2 separate regions of the Homo sapiens genome follow, and region 1 is linked to region 2. The links are contacts of gene promoters, found by promoter capture Hi-C in blood cells and fetal thymus (Javierre and others, 2016). All regions are on one chromosome and are shown on one strand. Each heading gives the region's core, a stretch centred on a gene start or on the middle of the fragment in contact. The rest is flanking DNA. Distances are from core to core; before and after follow the strand shown.

Region 1 (5,055 bases), core at 2,556-5,055, 4.4 Mb after region 2:
TTATCAGCATTGTATCTCTGAACTTCCAGATGTCTTGGCCAGTAATACATATGTAACAAAAGAGATTTCTGATAGTAAAAAGATTTCACAAGTTCTTAAACTTTAGTAGTCTATGGAATTTTTTTTTCCCCCAGACAGGGTCTGGCTGTTGCCTAGGCTGGAGAGCAGTAGTGCAATCACGGCTCACTGCAATCTCAAATTCCTGGCCTCAAGTGATCCTTCTGTGTCCACCTCCTGAGTACCTGGGACTATAGGAGCATGCCACCACACTTGGCTAATTTTTTTTTCTATAGGGACAGTGTCTGGCTATGTTGCCCAGGTTGGTCTCCAACTACTGGCCTTAAGCAATCCTCCCACTTCAGCCTCCCAAAGTTTTAGGATTACAGGCATACGTCACTGTGCCTGAGCTGGAATTCTAATACAAATTTTACTCCTATATATTTACACTATATATATCTATATATATAGTGGGAGATGGTGAAGAGCTTCTTTTCATTGTCCTCTTGCCTCAAGTTTAAACTCCTAATAAAACTGCCTGAAGTTGGGCCAGGCGCGGGCTCATACCTGTAATCCCAGCATTTTGGGAGGCCGAGGCAGGCGGATCACAAGGTCAGGAGATCGAGACCACGGTGAAACCCTGTCTCTACTAAAAATATAAAAAATTAGCTGGGCGCAGCAGCGGGTGCCTGTAGTCCCAACTACTCGGGAGGCTGAGGCAGAAGAATGGCATGAACCTGGAAGGCGCGCCACTGCACTCCAGTCTGGGCAACAGAGCAAGACTCCATCTCGGAAAAAAAAAAAGAAAACTGCCTGAAGTTTAAACTTCCAGATTTCAAAAAGGTACAGTACATACAATTGTGAAGAAAAATCTGGCAACAGTGGTTACCCCATGGGTAGAAACTAAGATGGGGGAGAAGCAGAAGGCAAGGGAGTAGTCAAAGGAGGGCTTTTATTCTTTTTGCATATACAGGACTACAGTAATGTCATGATTACAGTCTATGTTCGTAGAATTCTCTAGGATAGTCCAGAGTACAAACATTTTGTTCTCTATAAAGATTCTTGTGGTTATAAGCAAACATAATTTAAACCCATGACTGCTGTTCAACCACTGGAAAAGCTCTTTGAATTGCTATTGCAAAAAAAGGATTATACTGATAAAAACAGTGAACTGCCCAGTTATGCAAGTATAAGCTACTTTGTTTTTATACATTGTTTCATCTTAATCTTCTAAGGTCCTTCTTAGAAAACAGATATGATTCTTCTCTGCCTTTTACCTCCCAAAGGTAAGTTTAGTCATTAGCCAGGATTTGAACTGCAGATCATGAAAATTTGGTAACAGGCCAGCCGTGGTGGCTCATACCTGTAATCCTAGCACTTTGGGAGGCTGAGGCAGGAGGATCACATGAGGTGAGGAGTTCGAGACCAGGCTGGCCAACATGGCAAAACCCCAACTTTACTAAAAATACAAAAATCAGCTAGGCATGGTGGTACACGTATGTAATTTCAGCTACTTGGGAGGCTGAGGCATGAGAATCACTTGAACCCAGGAGGTGGATGTTGCAGTGAGCCGAGATCGCACCACTGCACTCAAGCCTGGGCAACAGAGCCAGACTGTCTCAAAAAAATAAAAATAAGGCTGGGTGCTGTGGCTCAGGCCTATAATGGCAGCAATTTGGGGGGCCAAGGCAAGATAACCTGATGTCAGGAGTTGGAGACCAGCCCGGCCAACATGGTGAAACCCTGTCTCCACTAAAAAAACAAAAATTAGCTGGGCGTGGTGGCACGCACCTGTAGTCCCAGCTACTCGGGAAGCTGAGGAATGAGAATCACTTAAACCCGGGAGGTGGCGGTTGCAGTGAGCTGAGATCGTGCCACTGCACTCCAGTCTGGGTCACACAGCGAGACTCCATCTCAAAAAATAAAAATAATAAACTATCTTAAAAAATAAAATTTGGTAACATAGGCTACCTATGTATTAACATGAAAAAAAGTCACAATTCTTTCTAGCCTGTCCTGAGGGTTCAAATAAATCCCAGCCCTTAACAAGGAAAGATCAGGTCATTTATTGTGTCCATGAAAAAAATAAACAAGTAGTTAACCCAGGACACTTTTCTTCTACCTACCCCCAAGCCCCACCAATCCCCAGGCACTGACAGCCATCCCTACCCAGTCTCATGTTTACCCTTGAGATAAAATTTGGCTATGGCTGTCCTGACATCAACGTTTCCTTTTGGACCATGACTCAGCTTTTTGGATCCCTTAATTTCCTATGCAAAGGAAAGACAGATGAGCTAAGTTAGATCTCCAGTCATCCTACTAACTGGATGGATCTAATGTCAATGCAACAGCTCCAGTCAGTGAATAGAGAGCTCAGATCCTTCACAGTATACCACCATGCCCCACCCTATCCCACCCCCAAGACAGTAGAGGCTTCTCACTGCTACCTCTAGCAATCTCTCATTGGCTTAATTTTTTCCTTCTATGACACAGGCAAAGGAAGGAATGTCAGTGCTCAAAAAGCTTCAGATTTTAGAGTATTTCAGATGAGGGATAATGATTCCAACCTCTATTTGGGAGGCGGGGTGGGGGGCAATGAAGGAAGCACTAACAGGTAAAACCAACCAGAAAATCATTTGATACAAAATTCCCAATAATTATATTTTTAAAATATTTTTCTTTTTTTATTTTTCAAACATCAACTTGAACCAGAAATCCAATAATTACAAATAAAATTTACACTGTGGCTGGGCATGGTGGCTCATGCTTGTAACCCCAGCACTTTGGGAGACTGAGGCGGGCAGACAACTTGAGGTCAAGGGTGTGAGACCACCCTGGCTAACATGGTGAAATCCCACCTCTACTAAAAAAATACAAAAATTAGCCAGGCGCGGTGGAGCGTGCCTATAATCCCAGCTACACAGGAGGCTGAGGCAGGAGAATTGCTTGAACCCGGGAGGTGGAGGTTGCAGCGAGCCGAGATCGCGCCATGAACTTCAGCCTGGGCAACAGAGTGAGATTCTGTCTCAAAAAACAAAAAAAGTTACACTGTGAATTTTCCAAATGCTTCATTTTATAAATCTGCAAGTAAGAAAAATTTCACTGCCAATTATGCAAATTCCATAACGAACCCCAAAGATCTGAAAGATAGTTTCATAACACCAGGAAATTATGAGGTACCATGTCAATTAACATTTTACTCCATTTTATAGTTAACCAAACTATAAATGTGCTTATCTTTATTCTCAGGATCTGTTTTTTTCTTTTTTGAAAAGGAGTCTTGCTCTGTCATCCAGGCTGGAATGCAGTGGTGCGATCTTGGCTCACTGCAACCTCTACCTCCTGGGTTTCAGCGATTCTCCTGCCTCAGCCTCCCGAGTAGCTGGGACTACAGGCGTGAGCCATAATGCCCAGCTAATTTTTCTATTTTTAGTAGAGATGAGGGTTTCATCACGTTGGCCAGGCTGGTCTCGAACTCCTGACCTCAAGTGATCCACTGGCCTCAGCCTTCCAAAGTGCTGGGATTATAGGTGTGAGCCACTCTGCCCAGCTCAGGATCTGGTTTTAATGGCAATTTTTTGTATATACTCCCATGGCACCCAGACTTCTTTAAAACACATACTAGACTTAGAATTTATTCTTTGTCATCTTCCCCAACTAGGCTATTAGCAACATGGGGGTAGGTACTGCTATATCTTTCAGCCTAGAGTTCCTGGCACATAGTAAGTGCTTGGTAACAGAGGTACCAAATAAATCAATCACTGAGTGGTACTGAAATTTTAACTCCTTTAAAAACATTGAGGCTGAGATTCTGGTTAAAAGTCTATTCAGAGAAGCTGCTGGATAGAATGTCACAACAGGAGGCCGGGTGCGGTGGCTCACACCTGTAATCCCAGCACTTTGGGAGGCCAAGGCAGCAGGTGGATCACAAGGTCAGGACTTCAAGACCAGCCTGACCAAGATGGTGAAACCCCACCTCTACTAAAAATACAAAAATTAGCCAGATGTGGTTGCGTGCGCCTGTAGTCCTAGCTACTCAGGAGGCTGAGGCAAGAGAATTGCGTGAACCCGGGAGGTGGAGGTTGCAGTGAGCCAAGATCATGCCACTGCACTCCAGCCTGGGCCACAGAGTGAGACTCCGTCTTAAAAAAAAAAAAAAAAAGAATGTCACAACAGGTACTGGATGGCCTGTTTGGAGGCCTAATTCTAGACCCTATCTCCTATCTCTTACTCCCTTTCCCTACATTGCACTAGGGATTTCTCAGTTCTGCCAAACTTGGGAAGAAGTGTAAGATAGAGGCCTCTCCATCTCCTGAGATGTCCACTTCCCTGTTACTGTGCTCAACCCCCTGGGCATAGAACTGGAGTTCCCAAAGATGTTTCTGATTCAGGAATGTGAATCTGAAAGCACAAAGGGCAAATCAGAAAATGGAACTCATTGGTGTTTAACAAGAAAGAAGAGATATTTAATATTTAATAATATATATAATATATAAGAAATATATAATATTGAATGATAAAATTCCAGAGAGACTACACCAAAACTTAATAGTTACCTTTGGGGAATGAGAACATGAAGAAAGGGTGGTGGTGGGGTATTCCTGTGAATTTTTATCTTTTGTTCTACAGCCTTCTTTACTGGTTAAGTACTTATTTGTTAACCAAGAATGTGAAAACAACAGAATATCACTAACCCCAATCAAAGAGCCTCTCACTTCAAACAACATTTAGCTGGTATATAAGTACACGTGTGTTTACTTTGCTATTAGATCCAGGGCGGAGGTAGTGATTTTAAAAAAACAATTCTAGTAACAACAGGAAAAATCAAATTGAAAAACATATCAAGCACCATGGACTCAAAGGTTAAGTGTAAGTGCACTTGCCAACAATAGGTCTCAACTCAACTGAAAATGACGTGGCTTCCTTATCAATTCATGTTGTCCCCTGAATCCCCTTCTTAAGTAGGAGGGAAAAAACGTATTCCATATAGAGTTTGGTATGTGGGAAAGTTGTGTTTTTTGTTTTTGGGGTTTCTTTAGTTTTTTATTTAAGAGATGG
Region 2 (6,914 bases), core at 1,720-4,219:
CATGCTACACCTAGACTGACAAACCAATGACGCGGTCCTCTGTCATGTAGCTCACCAACGCAGACTTCCTCCTCTAAAGATGAATTCCCTTCAATCCCTCATTTCTTTTTACTGTAATATGATTCCACTAGGAAACACTTCAATCCACCAGACAAGGGTGACGGGAATGAGGTACCCAGATCTACTGTCGCAGGAGGTTCCTGTGCCTCTAGGTAAATTTATGGGTGCATGCTAAGAGATAATTGGAAGGGTATTATGTCACCTCTACCTGTCAACAATGTCTGAAACCCAGACATCACTCAGAAAACTGTATTTTTTCAAGAAATATTAGAATTTAGGCAATTTTCATGTTTACTGGTAGCCTTGAACATCGTTTCATGATGCAGCTAAAATAAAATCTGTCATGGTTACTTTTTTCTATTATAAAATTGCAAGTGATTCAGTATAATAAAAGTTATATTTAACCCAAAGAAAGTTGCCAAACTTAAGCAAAAATGGAAAGAAAGCTATAGTAAGATATATTTAATACCCCAATTACCTAACTAGGAAAAACACTAAACTTAGCATGTTAGAAAAGGAGAAATATAAAAATATTAAGTGCTTAATTTATCTCTAAAAGAATTAACCATGAGTATAACAAGAAAAACAGAACAGACCATTGACTATCAACAGGCAGGCATATCAATCCACCAGAGCAGATACCTACCTTAATATTATAGTCCTATCCACCATTCGTTGCCTGGGTTTCAAATCCAAATAAGCATGGTGGTTGCTATAGTGACAATATGCCACTTTTGGAACCTGGAGCTTAGTACTACTAGGTACTTATGAGCTTCATAACGTCAGTACTTCCTCCCACACTCTGAATCATAGCTCAGATTTTATAACTTCACAAAATGTAATTCCATTCTGTCCTATATGAGTCAATTTTATTTTAGCAGTATAGAATATATGTCAAAAGAATCTAACTCACTTAACATGCTAAATATACATACTCAATATACATTTAATTAATAGTAAATATATTGGCCTGATAAGATAAATTTTGTGCAACCATTGGAATTCACTGATTTATTATTGAAACTGGGCAAGATTCACAGCTAATTCTTTAGCTTACAGTTGTTAAAATAGGATTCCTACCACACTTCATTTAAGAAGAAAGTTTGAAATTCTAAAATAATGAATTTCATTTATGGCAGACTGACATATTTTCATTTTACTCAGGAACCATTCCTAATAATTAAAGACTAATTATTAATGATCTCCAAGATGGTAGCTTGTTGCTAGCAAAATGCTAAGAAAAAAATATCAATCTCAAATTACAGTGCATTTCTAGAATATTAAAAAAAAAAAAGTCAGAGAACTGGAAACCCTCATACATGGCTGGTGGGAATGAAAAATGATGCAGCCACTTTGGAAAAAGTTTCCGTTTCTCAAAAAGTTATACATAGAACTACCCTACGACCCATCACTTTCATTCCTAGGTATCTACCCAAGACAAATTAAAACATACGTCCACATAAAGACTTGCACATGAATGTTCACAGCATTATTCATAACTCGAAACGACCTAAATGTCTGTAAACTGGTAAATGGGTAGTGTTTCATCCTGCCGAACCCACGACTGGGGTCGCCCTCTAAGAGTTCATTAAAATTAATAAGGTATAATTACCTAAAACTCTTGTAAACAGGGGCTCGAATAAGTAACCTATCACAATTGATAAACCACACCATGTTGTTGGCAACCTGATATGTGCAAGGCATTAAACGGAGAGCTTTGCCCTCAAAGGGTTAAGAACATCTAGAATGGGGGTCTCCTCTTTCGTCTTGGGAGCCCCCTCCGTCTGTCTCTGTAGTGGGGAGCTTCTTCCTTCAGCCTTCTTCCTTCTTTCTTGCCTATTAAATTCTCCGCTCCTTAAAACCAAAAAAAAAAAAAAAAGTCCAAAAAGTCTTGGTGTTTACCACAAAAGAACGATGCTATTCCAACATCACAGCCTCCCTAAAGCAACTCTCAATTATTACATAAAGAGGCAGCCTCCCTAAAGCAACCCTCGATTATTACATAAAGTCACTTAATCTTTTCTGACTTCACCACTCTTTGCAACCAGAGTTTACTTTGCAGTAGGCTGTGGTGAAGTTAGGGACATGGTTTGGAAAATCTAAGTTAGGGATACCAGGCAAAAAAAGAAGAAGAAGAAAGAAAAAAAATCAAAGCTCTGTCATTACTGTGAACTTTTCAACGAGAGCCTTAAATCTCAGCACAGGGAAAAGAGACCCTTCCTCAAGCCCTGGAGAAGAGGCTGGTCACAACCTGCGGATCTCAGATCCCTTTGCCAATTTTTTTCTCTCCCTCTGAATCCAAAGGGTGACGCTGTCCTCACTGCTTCCCCACACACCAGCGAGTGCGCGGAAGTCCACCTGCGTGGTTGGACCGAGGGGGCAGGTCCATTCGCGGCCTCCGCCACGCCCCACACCGCCCCTCCCGGCACAGCCCGCCGGGGTTAGCCCGCCCGTCCGCCAGCTCCCTCTCAGCGGCGCAATCTCAGGAATTCTTAACCCTACTCTGGGCAGGTGGGATGGCTGAGAAAGACCCTGCATGCCGCCACTTTGGCTCAGGGTCCTCAGCCCAAACTGAGAAACGTTTTACAAAGAAGCGTGACGACCTTTCGCACTAAACCAGAGTACCGCCACCTCCATCGACCGAGCGCCAAAATTAACCGACTTACAGATGTGACTGGGCGCAGCGGCCACCGTAAGGCGTAAGGGGTGCCAAGTGCCGGTTCCAGTCCCGCCCAGCCCCGCCCCGCCCCGCCCCGCCCAGCCCCGCCCCGCCCCGCGGCCTGCGTGCGTCAGAGATCACGTGCCGCGCCTCCCGTCCCTACAGGCAATCGGGCGCTCCCCTCTTCCGGAAGTCGCGCCGGTGCGCGCCGGACTCCTCCCACCAGCGGCGACGTCAAACTCAGCTCCTACCACTTCTCTGTCTCTGCCGACCGGCGCAGGGAGGGCTGCCTTTTCCTTACAGTACGCCTTGAGGCTTCCGGGCCGCTGAAGTTTACGAGCGAGGGCAGTGCAGTTACTCAGTGTGCCGGCCTCGGACGCACGTGAGTAGAGTTTGAGAAGACAGAGGCTGGCTCCCGGCAGGCCACGCCCGCAGAGGCCTTTCCCCCTCTCCACAACTTGTGTTCTACTTGGTTCCGCCGAGACCCACGACGGTTCCGCCCCCTTCTTCCTAGTCATTGATGTTGTTGTTCTTGTCAGTGCCGCAGCCCCGACCGCCGGGAGCTCGAACCCGAGCCGGGGCCGCCCGGGTGGCGCGGTGGCGGCGGCTGCGGCTGCAGCAGCTGCGACGGCTGCGGGGGCTGCTCCGGGTACTGCGGGGGCGGCCGGGAGCCGGCAGCCGGCGGCGGGGCCGGATGGCTCTGTGCGGGCAGGCGGCGGGCGCTGCGTCGCTGCCCAGCGAGCTGATCGTGCACATCTTCTCTTTTCTGCCGGCGCCCGACCGGCTGCGGGCCTCGGCCTCCTGCTCGCACTGGCGTGAGTGCCTCTTCTATCCGGCCCTGTGGCCCCAGCTCCGCATCTGCCTCCGCGTCTCGCCCGCGGAGCAGCCTCGGCTGGAATTCCTCATGCGCAAGTGCGGCTGGTTCGTGCGAGAGCTGCGTGTTGAATTCGCCGCCGAGAACTATCTGAGCGGCGGTGGCCCAGGGGACGGAGGTGGCGCGGACACCGGGACTGGAGGGGAGGAAGTCGAGGCCCTGCAGCTCTCAGCTCGTTGGCTGGAAGTGCTGCGCACCTACTTGGAGCTGGTGCTTTGCGTGCTGGTCAGCATCCGGAACAACAGGTAGGCTTGCCCTGAGCCCCGCCCCGCCCGGTAACGGGGGGTCGCTCCGTCCCCGCACCCCGACACAGATTCTGTGCATAATACGTGCCCGGCCAACTTCAGTGTTGCCTTCCTCAGTGACGGAGAGTGTTGGTTCTAACTAGGCGGTTTCCTTGAGCGGAAAGGCATAACGGGACTCATCACGATACTTTATAAACAGTGGTGGACGGGGTGTTTAACAGACACCACTTCTGGCGCCTTCCAGGCACTCATTCATCCTCTTGGTGGCCGTGGGATGGAGCTGACAGGCGCTGTCACTTTTCATTTTATATATGGGAGCGTTAAGACTGGGAGGGTGAGGCCTGTGGGTGAGCCTTGGAAGAAACAAAACATACACATAACACGATTTTCTGACTCTGAATCTGTTAGAAATAGTTCATGGTGAGGGAAGGAGTAGGTACTCATAGGACGCTGCCTAAAAGAAATTTTGTAACAGCCATTTTCTTACCAGAAATAGTTTCGGCTAACTGAACAAGGCCCGAAGAGGAGGAGGAGTGTTTGTTAAAGGGATTGGGGAAGAAGTTGATCTTCAGGGTTGAAAGTCCCTCCCCATACACCACCACACTCAACTTCTCCCCAGTAGTTCACCTAAAAGTAACAGTCGGGCGGAGGAGGCGGGCGGGCAGCGAGGGAGTTGGCCAGGGTCTGCAGAGGGTAAGCACATAACTGTTCTGGTTTTGCATCAGGACTTCACTGTAATTCCAGAACTAACGCCTTATATTCTGACCCAGTATCCCTCCCAATCATCATTTTTCTCCATCGCCACCTCCAAAACCCTATTAATTTAGATCTTCTTTATATGGATATTCTAAAGAACCTTACAGTAAAGCTCTTATTAGAAGAAAGTTTAGACGTTCACAAAAGGAGCACCTTACATAGTAAAAATACTTCAGCAGTTTCACATTCACTGTGTTGTTTGAGCCTCTCAGTGGCACTATGAGGCAGGGTAATGATAAATAACCCTGTTTTACAGAAAGGAAACTGACCCTTTATAGGATCAAGTGATTTGCACATTGCTGTACGGCATTGTTTTTCTCCGAAAGCGTGTCCTTTTGCAGTAAATATACTGAACATTATGTTGAACAAGGTTGAGAGCAGTCCCTGGTTTAATGCTAGGAGATATATATAGATATAAGGTTATATATATATATGTATGCGCCATTAATCTGTGTCTTAATTTAGAAGTCAAGAGATAAGTTATAGCTCCAAGTTGTATCTGGGATATGGCTCCATTATTCCAGTTGCCTGTGCGTTTCCACAGCTTTTCGCAAGACATTCTATTTCCTTACTTTGGTTTTATCTGGCAGGAGAGGCCATTGAAGCTAAAAACAGATTAGGTTAGAGACTTTCTCAGAGTTGAATGTATGGCTAGAGGACCAACTGACCCAAAAGTTGCAAAGTTTCAGTCAGTGAGCACTTACTAATGAGACCAAGGTTGAGGGTGAATTCAATGAGTGAGTACCAATTAGATTTTTCTGTACTGAGATCAAATTGCACTTTTATGCAACCATGCAAACACTGTATGTGCCTTTGACCCAAGTAAGAACAAGACTTGATAAGTGTCTAGTTCCTTTTAAGTATTTTAATAACTGGTTGGTTGGATGGGTGGATAACATACAGGCAAAATGGAGATATTTCACATCTTTGCTTTGTAGCTTAATTCTCCTGTCCTTCTCTTCCTTACCCCTACAATTTTTATTAGCATCCCAATCTGCTTCTCTATAAGGCCACCGATGCCTGCCCTTCTGGGTCAGCTATCACTTCTATGCAAAAACATCACACCCGTCATCCCTAATTTTAAGGTTTGCTTGTCATCTACTATTAGCATGGTGTTGTATGTCATGCTGCTTTGGTAGCATATTCATTCTGTTTGTCTCAAAATGTAGTGTAATTGCATGTTGTTTGTACTAATGATACATCAAAGGGTTTTTGGAAATAAGTTAATCTCATCTTTACTGTTGAAAGTGTTTTGAGATACTCTGTGATATTGGAAAAGTTAATATGAATATTAAATCCATAAATAAGACTAGTTTCCTTTAAATTTTAACAAATCTGAAAATGTTTTAAACCACATTGTTTATCAGTGACTAGTAAAGCCTATTATTTCTTTCTATAATCACTTAAACTATAGACTTGGGACATTTGACATTGCTCTTTACATTTCCAAGTTAAATTTACAATGGTTTTGCTTTATGATTTCTGCCATTCTATAAGTAGAAAAGAGGGGGTGTGAATCATACCAGATCATAAGCATTCTGCTTCCAGGCTTTGTGCTGAATTCCTTTATACAGTTCATACAATTCAGACTGTTATTTTGTTTTGTTCCAGTTATTTTCATGTCCCTCAGGAAAATAATTAAAAGTATAAACTTGAATTGTGTGAACTTTTCAAGGGTGCTGATCTTCAGAGAGGACAATTGGCATTTTGTTTTGCTTGGTTCCTGGGTTATATATATACATGTATTCTCATAGTGATTATAGTTGCCATACCTGTATCTTAGGTTTTAGGAACAACTAATAAGGATAAAGAAGGTGCATAAGTGCCTCTCTGAGGGTAACACACAGTCCTTCACGTTTCAGAAATTCCTTCTCTACAGGGCACTAGGATACCTGTCTTCTTCATTAATAGTAAGAACAGAGGGGCAGTAAGTACTCATTCAACTGTATTTTAGGTCACATAGGCTGAATTTCTCTGCAGTCGTTCTATAAGAAATTGTACCTAGAAGTGCAAACAACAAATAGATATAAATGCATTTTTAGCATTTAATCCAGTTGTCAGGTTGGGTACTGCCTATTAAAATGCTGTATTTCAGACTCCTTAGGAAAAACGAGAGCTCATGGTAAGATTTATGATAATAGGTAATAGACTCAGTCACTAAAAATACCTGAAGAGTAGCCATAGGCACATTGTCTTCATCTGGTTTATGCTTCTATGGGCTGTATAAATGTTTTACATAAGCTTTTCTTGGGTGGAATGCTGTTAGGGGCAGTACTTTTTTGTTGTTGTTGAGAATTCATATCGTTGGCCAGGGGTGGTG

The links. Contacts are between HindIII fragments. The CHiCAGO score rates a contact against its expected background, and 5 or more counts as called.
Region 1: a contact is called between a fragment that was not itself captured here and the fragment with the promoter of FBXO33 in region 2, in 1 of 17 cell types (total B cells). The highest score is 7.2, in total B cells.

The regions. Positions count from the first base shown.
Region 1 is chr14:35,047,996-35,053,050 of GRCh38, reverse strand. The region is part of intron 1 of FAM177A1 (family with sequence similarity 177 member A1); the gene reads right to left. Among named protein-coding and RNA genes, the nearest start is that of FAM177A1, 4.3 kb to the right of the region's middle. The HindIII fragment of the contact is 2,565 bases long and covers 2,523-5,055 here.
Region 2 is chr14:39,428,488-39,435,401 of GRCh38, reverse strand. FBXO33 (F-box protein 33) reads left to right here and starts at 2,969. Exons shown (of 4, transcript NM_203301.4): 1 at 2,969-3,838. The coding sequence starts at 3,240. LOC105370461 (a long non-coding RNA gene) reads right to left here and starts at 2,963. Exons shown (of 8, transcript XR_007064121.1): 1 at 2,883-2,963. RefSeq lists silencers at 2,371-2,540, 3,281-3,410, 3,851-3,980 and an enhancer at 2,931-3,180. The HindIII fragment of the contact is 7,836 bases long and covers 1-6,837 here.